Regions from separate parts of the Homo sapiens genome. Here region 1 is linked to region 2. The links are contacts of gene promoters, found by promoter capture Hi-C in blood cells and fetal thymus (Javierre and others, 2016). All regions are on one chromosome and are shown on one strand. Each heading gives the region's core, a stretch centred on a gene start or on the middle of the fragment in contact. The rest is flanking DNA. Distances are from core to core; before and after follow the strand shown. Region 1 overlaps PCDH9 (protocadherin 9). Region 2 holds the start of PCDH9-AS3 (PCDH9 antisense RNA 3).

Region 1 (2,700 bases), core at 200-2,699, 290 kb after region 2:
TTGGAATACTTTACAACAAAATTAAAAGTAATCTAAATATAATTGTAATACCTACAATATTTAAGTTATGTTGTTATACCATAATTAAGAGTATTTGAGTAAAATATTATATAGTATCCTAACTAGAAGCAGCTTAAGTGAATTCAATTAAGTGGATGGCTATGGCTTAATATGGGTTTGTACTTATCTTCTCAAATCCATTGGCTCCATTGGAATTGTAATTAAATATCTTAAGAACAAAAATAATATTTCAGAACATTATTTTCTTTTATTCATTCCTACCATGTGAACTTTAATCGATAGCTGTAGAGTGAACATAATTATATTATTTCATCTCAAGACTTCCTTTCGAGTGTCTTATTGTAGATGAAGAACACTAAATTATGCAAAGGTCTTCAAAACCAAATATGATGCTTCAGTCCAACAGGGTAAAGGAATGCTTTTTTTATTTTTCAATAATGTATATATTGTGATCATGGAAATATTTGCCCTCTAATATTTCAACATGACTTACATTGATGATAAAGCTATAGATTTTAATTTTCTTCCAGGTTAATGGATGTCTCTTTCAAATTCATAACATGGAGGTAAATTGAAGACTGACAAAATTTCTTCATGCCATGTAGAGGCTAATATCAAAGAAGCTTTGTTATAGCATGTTCCTCATCTAGTCTACTTGCAACTGATTTATACACCATGTGTAAAGTTGTAAATAGGATACAGAAGCACAATGCCTCATAGCTCAAAATGACCTAGCCAGAGATTTGGATGAATAATGGTGGATTTCTAAAAATTTATTTTCCATGTGTAACAGATATTGCCCAGGCTTAAGTAGGTAGTAGTATTTTCAAAGGACTCCAATATATAATAAGCATGTCTTTGGAGATAAGAAATAAAGGCACTGACCATGATTTCAAATATTACGACTATAATATGAAATTTGTAAACACAATGTAATATTTTTGGTATTCAATACAGTTTTACAAATATAAGGCATGTATTCTTTATCTTGTTCTTGTTTTCTTCTAAAGAGCTCAATTTCAATAGGTAAAAAATACGTGGGTTCATTTTCTCAATGGTGATTATAATGATTAAGTTTATTTTTCTTCTGAGATATCAGGACAGGTATTATAATAATTTTCAGAGGCAAAGGCATCTATGTTTATTTTTTTTCTATTGCTTATCACATTAAAAGTTAAAATAATAGTAAAAAAATCAAGTATTTTTAAATTTAACTGTGTCCAATCTTACATCATTGAAACAAAAGACAGTAGATATTTTGACAATACATTGGACTAGATGTTGTTTATTAGCATACTTTAAGTACTCCATAACAAAAGAAATTCAGTATTCTGCTATTCTAACTATGTCAATGGAAGTACATAGCACTTTAAAATGATTTATGTTTATGTTGGCCGGGTGCGGTGGCTCATGACTGTAATTTCAGCACTTTGGGAGTTCAAGGCAGGAGGATCACTTGAGGTCAGGAATTCGAGACCAGCCTGACCAACATGGTGAAACACCATTTCTACTAAAAAATACAAAAATTAGCTAGGCATGGTGGCAGGAGCCTGTAATTCCAGCTGCTTGGGAGGCTGAGTGGGAGGATCGCTTGAACCTGGGTGGCAGAGGTTTCAGTGAGTCAAGATGGTGCCACTGCACTCTGGCCAGTGCTACAGGGTGAGACTCCATCTCAAAATAAATAAAATAAATAAATAAATAAAATTTACAAAATAAAATGATTTACGTTTAGGTAAAATACATTATTTAAAACTTAAGGGGATATTAACATAATTTAAAACTTTAGTGCAATATGTCTCAGGCTTACGCTGGTGACACTGCTGGCAGTTCATGAGATGTGGTTGAGGACAGAGGTCTTGCTTGCATTCTAGCATGTAGTTAGATTATTCACAGGGACTCTTTAATTCCATTCTCAGTAGAGACTAATATATATTTCACCTAGAAATATGTTTTCCTGTGGAAAGAATTCAGGGAATAAAACCAGGAAACTTATTTCTGACCCTGATTTTGACATCTATCCTCTGGACTACTTTGCCAACTCAGGTTCCACTTCTGTAAAATGATGATTTCCTTTGGTGATCTTAAAACTTCAGTTTAAGTGACTTTTAAAATTGCCTTTTCTGACATACCACGTGTGCTATGGTTAGAGCCTTTCCCTCTGTTTTCATAGCCTTTTTTTATTCTGTACTAAACCTTGTAGTGTGTCTGTTACACACCTTCACTGTAAGCTTCTTGAGAGCAGAAGATGGCTTATGATTCTTTAACCCTAATATCAAGCAAATGTAACCTTTTGTATAGGTTACATTTGTATTTGTTTGAAGAACAATTGAATCATCACTGAAGTCTTCAGACTTAAAATCTATCAATCCTTGTCAGGATTACCTCGAAGTTTTTTTCTAACTTTAAAATTAGACAATTCTATATTTGCCTATATCATACTTAGATTTTCTTAAGGAACTTATGTCACCTACCTGCTATATCGTGATGATGAACTATTTAAATGCAAAAAAAACTGCATTACTCCATCAAAAAAGTATTGTTTAAATACTAGAAGTTAAATAACTTAGTGCACTGTGTTTATTTAGAAGAGAATAATACATAATGCTTATTTCTGTGCAGTTGTTTCTTATTGCATGGTTTATTTATGTGCACTTTTACTGGCATATGTCTTTGCTTTTA
Region 2 (2,700 bases), core at 50-2,549:
TATATTCTTATAGAAGATAGTAGCATAAACTAAGAAAAGAAGCAATCCATATATAAATCCTTACATAAATCTCTGATCTATAATTCACATACTTCTACAAAAGAAGTCTGAATAATTATATTTTGTAGTCTATGTAGAAAAACTAAAATAGGAGCATATGTGAATGTCTCATAATAAATTTTACTTTTTAATCACATATATCTGCACAATAGGTACCTTTAAGAAACTTGTAAAATAGCATACTAAGGAATAGTATCTATTTTTCTTGCAGTCATGCAGAAATTGCAATTGCTTTTATTTTGCAGATGGATAATCCTAAGCAAGGAGAAAAATCAGTGTTTGTTTTTTTTTTGTATTTGGTTTGCAGAGTTACTTTACCCTAAATACCTTACAAGATCTATCTGAAAATTATCATTTAAATTGGCTCCTGAATTTCAGCATCTGAACATAATTCTCCCATTTTCTTATGGTCAGTGACAGCAACAATAACAGCAACAACAACAAAACTCCAAACTAACAAGAATTAAAATGCAAGACAATAACAAACTATCAATAACCTGAAACTATACCTTGAAAACATCATTTCTCTTATCTGGTAAATTAATCTTTTATATGTCTAATTAAACAATTGAACATTTTAGTGTTTCTTTTCACTTACGAAAGGGCTTTAAAGTGTTTTAAGGGATACAACAGGTATGAAAAAATATTTAGCAAATTTTCACTTAACATTATTAACATCTGTCTGCATTATGTGCTTCCTCTAAACATTATATTTTTGCCTTTAAAATCGGCATTCCTTTAATTGCCTTGTAGCTATTTTCTATGCGAAATCTGGTGGGATAGAGCATTTCCACTGAGGAGATCAGATTTTACCAGAAGCACCATTTCCCAGCACTCTTTTCTGGTAGAAGCTGGGTTCCTGGTGGAAATGATGCTGCTTTTAGGATGATCTGAAGTACTCTGGAGAGATACCTTCTGCTCAGTTACCATTCAAGCTGGAACCTGCTATGACAGTTGTCAACAGTGCCCTTTCTGATGTCGCCCAGTTGTGTTCCATTTAGAATAAGTACTTAAAGAGACACCTGCTCGGAAAGCCAGAATAGAGAAGCTGCATGATTCTGGCAAACATATGTAGACAATAATATCCCTTTCCTACCTTGGGCAATAACTTAATAAAGCCTTTAAGACAACAGAATCTTAAGTAGTCATCCTTTTTGTTGTTGATGAGAAGGAGGGATATGGATACCAGCATCAAAACTTTCTTTATGTGCCTACAGCTGTGATCTGGGCACTACCACGTTATCCTGCTGCTATGACTCTCCAGCCATATGCTGCCGTTTATAGTACAGCCTATGATTCAGGCTGCAATGCTTGTGAAATTGGCATAAAGGCTGTCATCACCGTACTCTAAACACCCTGCAAGCCAGATTTTTCTTCTTCCTTTGAAAATTAGACGAGATCCCCCAAATGTCAAGCATATAGATGGTATATATTCTAAACATATAAAGGTGTACCATTCAAAAAGAGCAAAATATTATTTATTAATTATCACAGAGGGAGAAGTATAAAGATAATCTATTAACAGAATGAGAAATAAAATGACCCAACCCAAACCTATTAAAGGTCTCTGGTAAGTAAGGAAAAGCATTTAAAGATGACAGACTAAGTCTTTGGATCACTGGGGTGCAGAGCAGTGGTCTGCTTTTCAACATTAGTGTTTAAATGGAAAACAAAAATCTAAAATTAGTTTCAAATTTCAGAAGCCTGATTTTATGATTTTATCTTTACCCTCAGGAATTATACAATGAAAAAATGATAATAAAGGTGGTCCTATGGATAAAAACAAAGGTAAAATAAACTCTCTGCACTTTCCCAAACATCAGATTTATCCTTATTTTTCTTACTTGATTACAGATAAAGTGTAATATCCTGGACTAGATACAGGTCATACAAATGACAAATTACAGTTTGTATCTGTTTTTCCCATCTACCCTGACTTCCACCTAAAGGCGCTTGTTCTGATCCTAGCTCTACCTGCCTTGCCTAAGTATTGACTTCTGTTGTTCATATTGGTCTTGAGCCTTGTTGGGTTTATGGAATTGCTACTCCCAGTAAAATATTGTATGTATGGTAATAAGACATGTGTCTTATGGAGGGTGATCTACAGTTTATTTATGAAAAGTCATTTGAAACTCAAAGAGTTATTTTACTGGAAAAAATTCAGGTACTGAAAGATTCCATAGAGAAAATGAGTTTCACCCAAAGGGCTCAGATAATCCTCAAACCATACCCATATGAAAGTTGCCCAGTATAACTTTAAATACATCTCCAGTTTATGTGTTCTTTAGATTGACTACTTTACATAGACTACTACCATATCTTCTATACATTTCTATTAATTACTTAAAATGAATAATCAATATTTTTCCTCCAATATTTAAAACTAAAATAAATAAATAACTGCATGCAACTGAAAAGTAGTTTGCCAATGAGGGGATTTTAGAATTGAAGAATATCAGTTAGATGGATTGGATGAGACAGTAGGCAGCAGACACTTTGTGTATTTTTTTCCTCAAAGGACAGAGGGACCGTCTCCTGTCTTACTTTGTACATGCCCTATCTTTCAACAGAAATATTTTCTTGAAGGCCCTATTTTTCTCTACCAATTTCACCTTCTTATCCTTTCTTTAAAAACGTAGC

The links. Contacts are between HindIII fragments. The CHiCAGO score rates a contact against its expected background, and 5 or more counts as called.
Region 1: a contact is called between a fragment that was not itself captured here and the fragment with the promoter of PCDH9-AS3 in region 2, in 1 of 17 cell types (total B cells). The highest score is 5.7, in total B cells.

The regions. Positions count from the first base shown.
Region 1 is chr13:66,690,051-66,692,750 of GRCh38, reverse strand. The region is part of intron 3 of PCDH9 (protocadherin 9); the gene reads left to right. Among named protein-coding and RNA genes, the nearest start is that of PCDH9-AS2, 130 kb to the left of the region's middle. The HindIII fragment of the contact is 1,605 bases long and covers 647-2,251 here.
Region 2 is chr13:66,975,988-66,978,687 of GRCh38, reverse strand. PCDH9-AS3 (PCDH9 antisense RNA 3) reads right to left here and starts at 1,299. Exons shown (of 3, transcript NR_046636.1): 1 at 1,157-1,299; 2 at 217-315. The region is part of intron 2 of PCDH9 (protocadherin 9); the gene reads left to right. The HindIII fragment of the contact is 7,912 bases long and covers 1-2,700 here.